2 separate regions of the Homo sapiens genome follow, and region 1 is linked to region 2. Evidence: promoter capture Hi-C in human tissues and cell types (Jung and others, 2019). All regions are on one chromosome and are shown on one strand. Each heading gives the region's core, a stretch centred on a gene start or on the middle of the fragment in contact. The rest is flanking DNA. Distances are from core to core; before and after follow the strand shown.

Region 1 (6,903 bases), core at 3,727-6,226, 290 kb before region 2:
GGAAACCCAGGAAACTGATATGACCTGGGCTGATGATATTGCACTTAGATGCACTAACTTGATACAGACTATTTTTAATGGGTTCACCTTAAGAAGTGGCAAAAACTATATGCTGTTGAGTGTCATGTGTTGGAGGAAAGCCTGCAAAATAATGGTACCTATTATTTATGGAATGCTTCCAATGTGCTAGATTCTCATTCCCTGTGTTATTCCATTGAGTCCTCACAATGATAGTGTTGGATTGGAAGGAGAGGAGGCAATCAATGCCTTACTCATTAGTAGGGGGTGGTTGAAATCTAACTAGTTGGTGTAGTCAGACAGTAGTCTCAAACAAAAATGTGTTTGTGCGATGGTTATTGGCTCCAAGATTGTCATTCAGATGATCTAGAATATCCTTATAGTAATTTTCAGAAGCTATTGATAGAAGTAACACCTGCCCTCAGTCCCAAACACTTAAATTCTGATAGAGAACTGTAGATTCCTGGGAATAGGCATGTGAACTTTCACGGTTCAAAAAAAATCACAGCTTGAAGCATTAGTGATGCTTGGAAATGAACTAAAGCAAGATTATCTTTAAAAATAAATATTACCAGCCTGAGACGCTCCAGCTGTGTTTGTGATAAAACCTTCTGTGTCTTTATCACTCCCTCCCAGCATGTTGTGTTGGAAATCTACCTGGGCCTAGAAGCAGGTTTTCAGCAAAGCCTCTGGAAGAGATGTCTTGGCCTGATTCACCCTTCTCCAAATGGATAGCTTTGGATTTACTCTGAAATCAGACTTTCGACCCAAATGTGCCACTGGAGTTGGTTTACTTTTGGCAAAGCAAGACTTCATGTTTTTCAGAAAACAGATTTAAAGAAGCTTAGACAAGAGACTCATGAGCTTTCTTGCACACCAATCAGTTCTTGCAAAATAGCATTTTAATTATTTAAGTGCAAGTGAATCAGAAACATCTGAATTAAATTTTCTTCAAAAAAAAAAATACAATTGGCTTTTGAAACCAAAGAGAGAAAGTGCTTGGTTAGCTAAAAACAATTTAGGTTTTGTGGTAACCCCAAAGTGTTTGAAAAACAATTTACATATTTGATGAGCTCAAAATGTCTCTGGATTAGGCCTTGTTCCCAGGATAAAATAGACAATAAATATAGACATTTAAAACAGGGTCATATTGGGTTCCATTTCACAGGATCTCACATTTGGTAATCAAAAGTTGAAAAAGCCTGTCCTTACTTTTTACACAGTACACTTTCAAAACCATTAACTCTTTTAAGAATTATTCAAATTTTGAAAATCTCTTATGAACTAGACTTTTTATGGTGTCAAAGTAGAATAACTAGTCAAACAATTTAATAACATTTTTATAGTTTCTTTTAGCTGAGTCTATCTTGTACAAAGGGCAAATTATTTCAGAAGTCTAAGAGTGTTTATGTCCTCAGAGAGAGCTGTGGGACTACAACACATTCTCCCATAAAAATGAGTCATCAAGATATTTTGTGGAACTTAGATTTGGTTTTATTCGTGGGAGATTCACCAAATTGGGTTGATTAGTTCTTGTTCATTAATTTGTGCTGTCCTTGCATTTTCTTAGCAAGCTCCTATTTAACCAGAAGTGTTTTCCATTTGATGGGAATAAATCCAGCCACCAAGAGTGAATTGAATTTCTGGCTGACCAGTAGTGAAGTTTAGGTAGAAACCAAAACTGGGAAATGACCATTGAAAGATAGTCACTGATCAAAAAGAACCTATCAACTGAAACTTGCCATGAACTGACAATGTGGTCAGTAATTTAATGTTGAGTAATTTAATACACTTAAAGCCAGAAGATTTGAATTTCTCTCTAAACATGTTAGTAGCAGGCAAATCATTTAGCCTCTTCCCCTGGTCTGTGAAAGCTCTGTTTGATTCTAGTGAATCAGAGAGAAAGAGCGACTGACACTGGATTCGCAGAGCAAAGAGAGATAGGATGCTGACAAGGTACAATTCTTCCATATTTACGTGTCAGTTTAGATTCTCTAATATTACCTTGGCTTGATCAGGTTTCTGCTACTTCTATCGAATCTTTATAAACTATATGCAGAGTCTTTTGTTTGAAGCCTGATCTTATTTCCTTCCAGGGTCTTAAAAATAGATGGTACAATTGACCCTTAAGCAACATGAGTTTGAACTGTGTGAGTCTACTTATACATGGATTTTTTTCAATAAATATATTGGAAAATTTGTTGATGATTTGCAACAGCTTGAAAAAAGTTGCAGACAAACTGTGTAGCCTAGAAAAAGGGGTATGTCATGAATCCATAAAATATATGTAGGTACTAGTCTATTTTGTGATTTGCTACCATAAAATATACACAAATCTATTATAGAAAGCTAAAATTTATTAAAACTTATGCAAAGAGACCATACATGGCACCATTTACAGTAGAAATATTTAAAAGTAATGATGCAGTGTTAAATCATAGCTGCATAAAATTAACTGTAGTACATACTGTTCTATTATAATAATTTTGTAGCCACCTACAGTTGCTATTGCAGTGAGTTCCCCTGCTGTGAGTATTCGCTTAAATGCTGTGTGATGCTAAGGAATTGTGTATCAAAGTAAAAAGTGATCTCTTTGGGTTCTCCTGTACATTTCATCATGTTTGGTACAATACAGTAAACCTTGAATCACACCATAGTGATGCTGGAAGTGCTCCCAAGAAGCAGAGAAAAGTAATGACAGTACAAGAAAAAGTTGAATTGCCTGACACATACCATAGATTGAGGTCTGCAGCTGCAGTTGCCCACCATTTCAAGATAAGTAAACCCCATGTAAGGGCCATAGTAAAAAAAGAAAAGGAAATTTGTGAAGCTGTTGCTGCAGTGACACCAGCAGGTGTGGAAATCTTGCACTTTTGTGAAATACTTTTAATCTTGTATTGAAAAATGTAGCTTTAGTGTGGGTGCAGGATTGCTATAAGAAAGTCATACCTATAGACTCTAATATGTTTAGAGAAAAAGCAATGTCATCATGTGACAACTTAAAGCAAAAGGAAGGTAAAGGATCTAAAGCTGGAGAATTTAATGCCAGCAAAGGATAGTTTGATAATTTTAGAGAGAGGTTTGGCTTGAAAAATATCAAGATAGTAGAAGCAATTTCTGCCAACCAAGAGACAGGAGACCAGTTCCCGTATGGTATTAAGAAAATCCCACTTGATCATGGTGGATAAGCTTTTTGATGTGCTGCTGGATTCGGTTTGCCAGTATTTTATTGAGGATTTTTGCATCAATGTTCATCAAGGATATTGGTCTAAAATTCTCTTTTTTGGTTGTGTCTCTGCCAGGCTTTGGTATCAGGATGATGCTGGCCTCATAAAATGAGTTAGGGAGGATTCCCTCTTTTTCTATTGATTGGAATAGTTTCAGAAGGAATGGTACCAGTTCCTCCTTGTACCTCTGGTAGAATTCGGCTGTGAATCCATCTGGTCCTGGACTCTTTTTGGTTGGTAAGCTATTGATTATTGCCACAATTTCATATCCTGTTATTGTTCTATTCAGAGATTCAACTTCTTCCTGGTTTAGTCTTGGGAGAGTGTATGTGTTGAGGAATGTATCCATTTCTTCTAGATTTTCTAGTTTATTTGCGTAGAGGTGTTTGTAGTATTCTCTGATGGTAGTTTGTATTTCTGTGGGATCGGTGGTGATATCCCCTTTATCATTTTTTATTGTGTCTATTTGATTCTTCTCTCTTTTTTTCTTTATTATTCTTGCTAGCGGTCTATCAATTTTGTTGATCCTTTCAAAAAACCAGATCCTAGATTCATTAATTTATGAAGGGTTTTTTGTGTCTCTATTTCCTTCAGTTCTGCTCTGATTTTAGTTATTTCTTGCCTTCTGCTAGCTTTTGAATGTGTTTGCTCTTGCTTCTCTAGTTCTTTTAATTGTGATGTTAGGGTGTCAATTTTGGATCTTTCCTGCTTTCTCCTGTGGGCATTTAGTGCTATAAATTTCCCTCTACACACTGCTTTGAATGTGTCCCAGAGATTCTGGTATGTTGTGTCTTTGTTCTCATTGGTTTCAAAGAACATCTTTATTTCTGCCTTCATTTCGTTATGTACCCAGTAGTCATTCAGGAGCAGGTTGTTCAGTTTCCATGTAGTTGAGCGGTTTTCAGTGAGTTTCTTAATCCTGAGTTCTAGTTCGATTGCACTGTGGTCTGAGAGACAGTTTGTTATAATTTCTGTTCAAATTTACAAGAAAAAAACAAACAACCCCATCAAAAAGTGGGCAAAGGATATGAACAGACACTTCTCAAAAGAAGACATTTATGCAGCCAAAAGACACATGAAAAAATGCTCATCATCACTGGCCATCAGAGAAATGCAAATCAAAACCACAATGAGATACCATCTCACACCAGTTAGAATGGCAATCATTAAAAAGTCAGGAAACAACAGGTGCTGGAGAGGATGTGGAGAAATAGGAACACTTTTACACTGTTGGTGGGACTGTAAACTAGTTCAACCATTGTGGAAGTCGGTGTGGCGATTCCTCAGGGATCTAGAACTAGAAATACCATTTGACCCAGCCATCCCATTGCTGGGTATATACCCAAAGGACTATAAATCATGCTGCTATAAAGACACATGCACACGTATGTTTATTGCGGCACTATTCACAATAGCAAAGACTTGGAACCAAGCCAAATGTCCAACAATGATAGACTGGATTAAGAAAATGTGGCACATATACACCATAGAATACTAGGCAGCCATAAAAAATGATGAGTTCATGTCCTTTGTAGGGACATGGATGAAATTGGAAATCATCATTCTCAGTAAACTATCGCAAGGACAAAAAACCAAACACCGCATGTTCTCACTCATAGATGGGAACTGAACAATGAGAACACATGGACACAGGAAGGGGAACATCACATTCTGGGGACTGTTGTGGGGTGGGGGGAGGGGGGAGGGATAGCATTAGGAGATATACCTAATGCTAAATGACAAGTTAATGGGTGCAGCACACCAGCATGGCACATGTATACATATGTAACTAACCTGCACATTGTGCACATGTACCCAAAAACTTAAAGTATAATAATAGTAAAAAAAAATAAAAATAAATAAATAAAATAAATAAAAATAAAACTTTAAAAAAAGTTATCTGAAAAGGAAAAAAAAAAAAAAGAAAATCATTGAAGAGAAAGGATATCTGCCCAAGTAGGCTTTTAATACAGACAAAAGTGCCCTATTCTGGGAAAAAAGAAAAAAAAGCCACAAAGGACATTTATTAGTAAGGAAGAGAAGTGAGCACCAGGATTTAAGGCCAGAAGGGTTAGGCTAACTCTACTGTTTTGTGCATATGTAGTCAAGTTTATGACCGGGCTGCTCTTATCCAGAAAGTTGCCAATCTCCAAGCCTTGAAGGGAAAAGATAAACACCAGCTGCCAGTCTTTCGGTTGTACAACAAGAAGGCCTGGACAACGAGAACTCTTTGTCTGGATTAGTTCCAACGATGCTTTGTTCCTGAAGTCAGGAAATACCTTGCCAGTAAGGGAGTGCCTTTCAAAGTTCCTTTGATAATGGACAATGCCCCTGGCCACTCAGAGCCTCATGCCTTCACCATTGAAGGTGTTGAGTGGTCTACTTGCCCCGAAGCACAATGTCTCTAATTCAGTCTCTAGATCAAGGAGTCATAGGACCTTTAAGCCTCATTACACATGGTACCCTTTGCAAAGGACTGTCAATACTGTGGAAGAGAGCCCAAGAGAACATCATGAAGGTCTGGAAGGATTACAACGTTGCAGATGCCATTGTTGTTATAGAAGAAGCCATGAAAGCCATCAAGCTTGAAACAATAAGTTTCTGCTGGAGAAAACTGTGTCCAGATGTTGTGCATGACTTCACAGGATTTATGATGGAACCAACCCAGGAAATCGTAAAAGAGACTGTGGATAAGGCAAAAAAGGTGGAAGATGAAGGGTTTCAAGATATGGATCTTGTTTCTCCAATTATCCAATTCTATAGCTAATAGACACCACACCAGAGAAATTAACAGAGGATAACTTGATGGAGATGAGTGGTTCTGAACCACTGCCAGGTGATGAGGAAGATGACACAGAAGCAGTACCAGAAGACAAATTGACAGTTGACAGTCAGGCAGAAGGGTGATTATTCAAGACTGCTTTTGACTTCTTTTACGCATGGACCCTTCCATGATATGGGCACTAAAACTAAAGCAAATGGTGAAAGAAAAATTGGTACCATAGAGAAACATCATTTTTCAAGAAATGGAAAAGCAAAAAAAGTCAGGCAGAAATTATGATGTCTTTCTGTAAAGTTACACCAAGTGTGCCTATCTCTCCTGTCGCTGTCACCCCTGTGGCAGCAAGACTAACCCCTCATCTTTCTCTTCAACCTACTTAAAATGAAGATGAAGATGATGAGGTTGGAGATCTTAATCCACTTAAGTGGACTACTTCCACTTAATCAATAGTAAACATGTTTTTTCTTCCTTATAATACATATGTACTGTATTTTATACTGTATTTTTATAAGAAAGCGCAAGCTAGAGAAAAGAAAATATTATTAAGCAAATCATAAAGAAGCAAAAATATTGTCTGTGTAAGGAAATGTAAATAGAAATGTGTTATGTGGACTTCCCAGGAGTTCTTTAAAGGAAGCTAATGGAGAAGAAGGGGCTGCTCTTTCCTAGTTGCCTTTCTTCCTTCTTCTGGCCTGAAACTCCAGCAGCCTTTTCGAAACATGAAGTGACCTTGAGTATGGGGGCCAAGTACTAGAGTGTTGAAGTTTAGAAGCCTAGGTCTCTGATGGTACTGTGGAGTAGCTTCACCAACCTTGAACTGCTTACTCATAATTTGTTGGGTTTTTTCTCTTAACATGAGAAGAAAATTTCTATCTT
Region 2 (6,536 bases), core at 2,124-4,623:
CCTGGAAAGACAGAATGCCATCTCCTCAAGTCTAAGTGCTGTGTAATCATTACTCTACAAACCAAGTGGAGATATTACCTATTCTGCAAACAGCAAACCAAGCAAAATTCCTAGGTGCTCCCAAGGGAACAAATCATGCAGAGAAACTGCTCTCTGCTTCTCTCGAAAGCCCTCGCTGTTCCCAGGGGCCCTAAAACTCATTATCCCCCTGCGGGTGAACAGCAGACTCCAGTAGTTGTATACTTCTAGAAAGTGGAAGCAGTACATCTAAATGTTTTCAAAGTTTGCTCATGACAAGGAAGGGAAGGATGGGGACTCAAGGGCTGGGTAAGTAAAGAGTGTTATGGACCAAGAGGGTCAGCAAAGAGGGGGCGGTAGAAAATGTAAGGAGAGAGAAAATTGATAGAAACAGGTCCAGGAGCAAGTGAAAGATTTGCTCCAGTGGAATTAACATGAATATACATGGGGATGGGGGGGCAGCACTTGAATTTTAGAAACAAAAATGAAGATGAGTAGAAATGCAATTTTTTAGGTAGAAAGATATTTCTGTCCACTGGCCTCTATTTTCTCAGAAAAGGTGTGAGCGGGTTGAGGTTTGGATGAAGAAGGCTTGAGGAGGATGGAAAATGTTTAGAATCAAAAGTCAATTAGAAAGGGCTAAAAGGATTTCCAAGTAGAAGTGACTGTGGCATTAAGCTAAAATGGCATAGTTTATAGTGGACTGCTTCCAGAGCAGAGGACACGGGGTTTAGTCCATTGCCACTGAGTTGGGTCAAGCCCTTAGACAGCTGTCTTCTGACCTGACTTTCAAACTGAAACCTACCCTTCTGTGATTTATCCAGGCTTCTGTGATTTACCTACCCTCTGCTTGCAAGACAATCCAAGGTCCTCAGCATGACACACAGGCCTTTCCCTAACTGGCCCCCATTTGTGTCTCCAGCATCAGTTTTTGCCTTCTGCCATATTGAACTTAACTGTAGTTCCTCTAGAGCCTCAGTCCCTTTCAGTGCTGCTGGGCCTTAACCAAAGTATTCTCCTGAAATATTTTTCCCTTTAATGTCTGGAAAATAACATGTATTTTTTTTTTAAAGGCTGCCTCCTCTGAGAAGCCTTCCAGGGTCACCTTAGGTAAAACTGATTGTCAGTCTCTCTTTTTGCCAGCCTTACCTATGCCCTGTATGTGCTACTGACATCACAAGTCACTTCATATTTCATCTATTTTAAAATGCACTTTTATTCACATTTTTTAAAAATCCCTGAAATCAGCCAGATGTGGTGGTACAGGTTTGTAGTTGCAGCTACTGAGGAGGCTGAGGCAGGAGGATCACTTGAGCCCAGGGCTCGAGGCTGTAGTGTTATGATCGCACCTGTGAATGGCTACCACACTGCAGCCTTGGCAACACAGGCAGACCTTGTCTCAAAAAAAAAAAAAAAAAAATCCCTTAAATTAGCATGTAACTTATAATCAATGGTGTATCATAGTTCAATGACAGGATTAAAAAAAATTTTGGTGATACCAAAAAAAAGTACATCTTACATTGGAGAGCATTTGGTGAAATGCAGCTTCATTTTCTAACTTTCTAAAGTGAGTGTAGGAGTGCTTCTCATCTTGCCTCCCACCCCACCGCCCCCGCCACCTTTGGCAGTGTCTGGAGACATTTTTGGCTGTATCAACTTGCGGCGAGGAATATGCTGCTGGCATCTAACAGGTAGAGGCGAGAGATGCTGCTAAACATCCTCTAATACACAGGACAACCCCCGACAACAAAGAATTAGCCAGGTCAAAATGTGAATAGTACAGAGATTGAGAAACCCCTACGTAGAGAAACAATACCTATTTGGGTATATAATAGGCTTTATTATGTTTGATTTTAAATAAATCTTTTACAGTGTATAGTGCAACTTAATGTATAGCAACTTTTTCCAAACCTTGGCTTGTACAGAATAGCAACTCTTGAGACATATTCTAAGCTCTCCTCATCACCCCTCCCCAACTCCTTCTGCTAGATGCCCCAGGGAAATAAAATACAGCAATGCTCCTGGTCAAAATCTGAAAGCCAGAATGTCTCAGAGAGATTCGTGACCTTAAACCAATTAGGTTAGTTAATGGCAAGTCCAGGACTGAAACCCAGACCCCCAGATTTCCGCAATCTCACTCAGCCTGGGAGACAGCTGCTCCCTTCCCGGGCTAAATTGGCTAACACAGTTTGGTACCTTAAGAGGAAATGTGCCCTACCTATATGAGCTGGGTGACTTAGCAAGAGTTTAGCATTTAGTATTCACGCTTTAACACCCGGGACCCACCCAGCTCTCACCCCACTTTATGAGAATGTAGGTTGACTCTGTAAGACCCCTTAGCTCTGTGGGGAATTGGATTTATGCAAAAAATAATAGTGATTCATGAATGTGAAGGAACTTTAAATAAATGTAGATGATTTCATCATACAAAAGGCAGAAGGGACTTAGTAAGTGTATTTAAGGCTCTGGAGGAAGCGTTATTAATTTGGAAAGTGGGTGGGGGGAGCTGTCCTCTATCCCTACAAGCTGCACGTGTGGAAAGGGCCTTTCTAGCGCAGGAAGCTGATTTATGTGAGAGAGGAAGGAGTTCCAGGGGGAGGTTTTGGCAAGGCAGTCCCCACATCTCGGTTGTGCCAGCCAGGCGGGCCTCAGGTGGGTCTGGGGCTCCCTGCCCCTCCTGCTGAGTCCCCAGAGTGTCCCCCGCCCCCTTCCTTCTCCCACTGGGGCTGAATCACAGTGGGCAGCAGTGTTTGGGATCCTGCGATCCACCCATCGCCATCCCAGCAGCCCCACCCTTGGAGGATGGGAGGTTACCCTGCACGCCAGAGGGGATGGCGGGGGCCAGACTCACCTTCAGGTGAATGGGAAAGGACCGCTCCTGCTGGAGGGGCCCCAGCAGCGTCTGCTCCACGCTGACCAGCTCCGAAGTCGAGTCCACCACGCGGGCCAGCGCGCTGCGCATCGCCATCTGGGCCAGGGTGCAGGGCCCGCGGTCCCGGGGGAAGGGCAGCAACTCGGCGCCCCCCTCAGCGCCTCGCACTACCTCCTCCTCTGGGGAGTTCGCCCGCGCCGCGGTCCGCCGACTCCTGGTCCCCACGCCCCCGCCCCGCTCCTCGCGCCCGGGCCCCGGCCGGGCCCGCGGCGGGCCTGAGCGACGGGCTGGAGCGGTGGACACGTGGTCTGGGTCCCGCGGGTTCCCGGGGGCGACTGGACCGTCCCCCCAGCCCCACTCCTGCTGCAGCAGCTGCAAGGTCTGCAGAGCCACCATTTGGTGGCTGATGGAGGCCACTAAGGGCGCAGGGCTGGCCATCGCCTCCGCTGGCGGCCCGGCGCGCTCCGCGTGCAGGTGGAGCAGCAGCGAGGGAGGCGGGGGCGTTGGGGTCGCCAAGGTCACATTTTCTAACCCGCGGCTCCTCGGCCTCTGGGTCTCACAGCGTGTGTGGTCGGCCCCGCCCCCGGCTCTGAATCGGTGACCCGTGCTGGCCTCTGCCTTCGCCTGAAGTCCGAATCAGGCGTGTTCTGACCCAAAGCTGCCTGAAGCGCTGCTCGGTGTGCACTTGAAAATCAGCGAAATGCTGAGCGTTGCTTCTTCCCTCTCTCCAGGGCTTTGATGAGAAAACGTGCTGCTTTGTGCGGGCGCATCCATCGGCGGGGATACCCCGCCCCCACCTCCTTCGAAGGATGCCTGCCAATGACCACTGAGGTCTGGGAGGTGGGGGTGCAAAAGACCCACTCTAGGGCAAAAGTACGAAGGGCTCTAGAAAAACTTGCAAAAGGAAGACTGTGCCTTTCCCAACCCGAGGGGAATTTTCAGAAACTTGTTGAAGCAGCCTTCAAGGCCTTGCATCCCCCAAACAAAAGAAGGAGGAGTTGTGTATCTGGAAGTTCTGCTCTTCTCTGCTTTGCTGGGTGCCACTTGAGCACCGAGAGCCTGGTGGCTGAACTAGCATCAGCAAGCCTCAAGGCCCAGGCCTGGCACTGCCCAGAAAAGCCTAAATGTTTTTTTGTGACACTCCCAAAAGACTTAGGCAGCAAGGTTGAAGTTAATCCTTTTATGAGCCATGAACTTAGGGACAGCTGTACAAATAGTTGCTGTTTTTAATTAAACCCAACATGGCTACTTCCTTAACTTAGAAAAAAGCGACTAGCAATGTTATGCTTTGATAGATTGGAAACCATGGGTGTGTGATCACACTTAAGAAAATAGAAGATATTTGAGAGGAGTGGTATGGAAAACCAGTCCGGAGCAGCATTGTTCCTGCTTGCTTTCTGCAAGGAAAACCACTAGACAACCCAACAGCCCAGTAAAGCCAGGGCAATGGTGCATGCCCACGACAGACAGGTGGGCCCTGGCAGACCTGAGGATGGAATTGCATTACTCCTTTGGGAGCCAGACTGCACCCTTGGTGCTGTGCAGATCTGGAGAGGCTTTTGAGTGAAAAGGCCACACTGGTTAGTCTGTGAGCACAAAAGGATCATCAGAAGAGATATGGAGAGGGATGTTGGGTCCTTTAAGGTTTCCTTAACCCTGGGATAGTATGACCCCATATAATCCTCCCAACTTGCCAGCAAAGGTTCCTTCTCCTTCCCAGTGCTTTCTTCGCCTATGAAAACGAATCTGAATGCCAAGGTAAAGAAAACCTTTCTTAAACAAAAACGAGTATGTTCACACTAATTATAACTAAGTAAAAATGCACGTCTGTGCATTGACAGAGAGGAAATTACTTTGGAGGGAAGTAAATAGTTTAATGTTGATTAGATTTTTTTGCCATGAAGTTACTTAAGTTCATAATAAAAAATAGAAAGAAAAAAATTTTCTTTTTAAAAAAAGTCTTCAAATGTTGAAATATATTAGGTTCAGCAGAGACTAACCAGCAATAGCAAAAATGAACCCCTAATTTTCACAGAGCATGTCAGATCTCTAGGGCTGCCTCTCTTTCCAGATACACAGGAAATTCAGTTTCATGGGCTAACCCTTCCACTATCAAATGGCTGACTGCAAAACTTTCTTGACAGTTGGAATTGCAGCCAAGAGCAGAATTGAAATCACTAGACACAGGCTGACCTGAGGCCCCACTCTTCTACATACCACACTGAGTCAGAGCCATGAGACCAACTGAACCTCAGGGGGCATGACAGAAGGGTGCCAGAAAACCTTGGGGCCTGAGGGATGGCACATGCTGCTTAAATTGCTGCCTGCTTTTTCTAGTATTCTTAGGAAGCCCTGGATCATCTGGCAACTGAGTGTTTTGTCTGTTTTGGCTGTGGGTCGCACTGTGTTTTGCTATGATCTCAAAATGGCTTGTGTTCCAAAGCTAGAGATATGAGAGCCTAACTCAGGAAAAATTTTCATAGTCTATTTAGATGAGTCAATAGCATAGCAGATCTACCTTTGGTCTAAAACACCTCCGTAGTTACGTTTGCTGGGCTACCAGACGAAGTAACAGATAGCCTACTTCTTACCCACTGTACTCACGATTTGAGGCCATTCTGTAATAAAGGGCACATTCAAAAGGACAAAGTATTAGATATCTGATATGTTTGTTTCACAACATATATTTCACTATTTTATAGAAATCATACCCTCATTTCTCAGTAGATATGCCTTTTCCTCCACACTCTGCCCGTGAAGTCAGATGGGATGAGCCCATCTCACTGCAGAAGAGTACTGGATCATCTAGCCTAAGTCCCATCACACATCACATCCCCACAGTGCATGCATGGTCAGGAATGGGCACATGACCCAGCTAGAGCCAATGAGACAGTATCTTTTAGGATGCTTTCAGCTGAATGCACTGTAAAAGAGAAAACAACAGATGCAAAGAGTACAGGCCAAAAAAGAAGTGTAGGCCAAGAGATGAAACAGCAAAAGATCAAATTCCCTTTAAACCAGAAAACTCAACATAACATAGTTTAATCAATAAGAATAATTTATTGTCTCACATCACAAGAAGTCCAAAGGCAGAGTGGCTCCAGAGTTGGTTAATATAGCAGCTCCTCAGTGTCATCAAAGCCCTTTGTTCCTTCCTTCTTTCTGCCATGCCATTCCCAGCACATCAGCTTTGTCCTTAATTTTTGGGCTAGTTCTCCTATGGCTACTAGCAGCTGCTGGCATCATGTCTAGACAACAATAACTAGAAGAAAAGGCCATCTTTTCCTGTGTATTCCTTCTCAAGAGCAAGGAAACACTTCTCAAAAGCCTTCAGCTGGCTTCCTCTCACATCTCCTTGACCAGAATTGTGTCACATGTTCTTGCCTAATTAATCACAGTCAAGAGGAAAGAGGCTACCATGAGAGTCTAAGGTGAACTAGAATTCAGTGTAGGAGTTGGGGCTGAGCCTAGCCTCTCTCAAAGCAATTGGTGGAGGGAGGATGAAAACTACTTGATATGAAGCAAGGTTTTGTTACCAAGCATCAGCAATGGCAACAGAGAACAATGAGGATTTTGCAGGGGTTTCCAGGTAAAGAATATATCAGATTTCCAGGGCTGCTTCTCTTTATCAATACACAGCAAGTCC

Evidence for each region. The method cuts DNA at HindIII sites, captures the fragments that hold promoters and counts their contacts. A contact is called where the count stands out against the background at its distance.
Region 1: a fragment that was not itself captured here is called in contact with the fragment with the promoter of DLEU7 in region 2 in 2 of the 25 tissues and cell types used here (IMR-90 fibroblasts and mesenchymal stem cells).

What each region holds. Positions count from the first base shown.
Region 1 is chr13:50,551,192-50,558,094 of GRCh38, forward strand. No RefSeq gene overlaps it. Among named protein-coding and RNA genes, the nearest start is that of DLEU1-AS1, 27 kb to the left of the region's middle. The HindIII fragment of the contact is 5,884 bases long and covers 2,035-6,903 here.
Region 2 is chr13:50,840,319-50,846,854 of GRCh38, forward strand. It overlaps DLEU7 (deleted in lymphocytic leukemia 7), which reads right to left and starts at 3,374. Exons shown (of 2, transcript NM_001306135.2): 1 at 2,870-3,374. The coding sequence starts at 3,328. All of the region lies in intron 4 of DLEU7-AS1 (DLEU7 antisense RNA 1), which reads left to right. RefSeq lists an enhancer at 2,304-3,230. The HindIII fragment of the contact is 10,732 bases long and covers 1-6,536 here.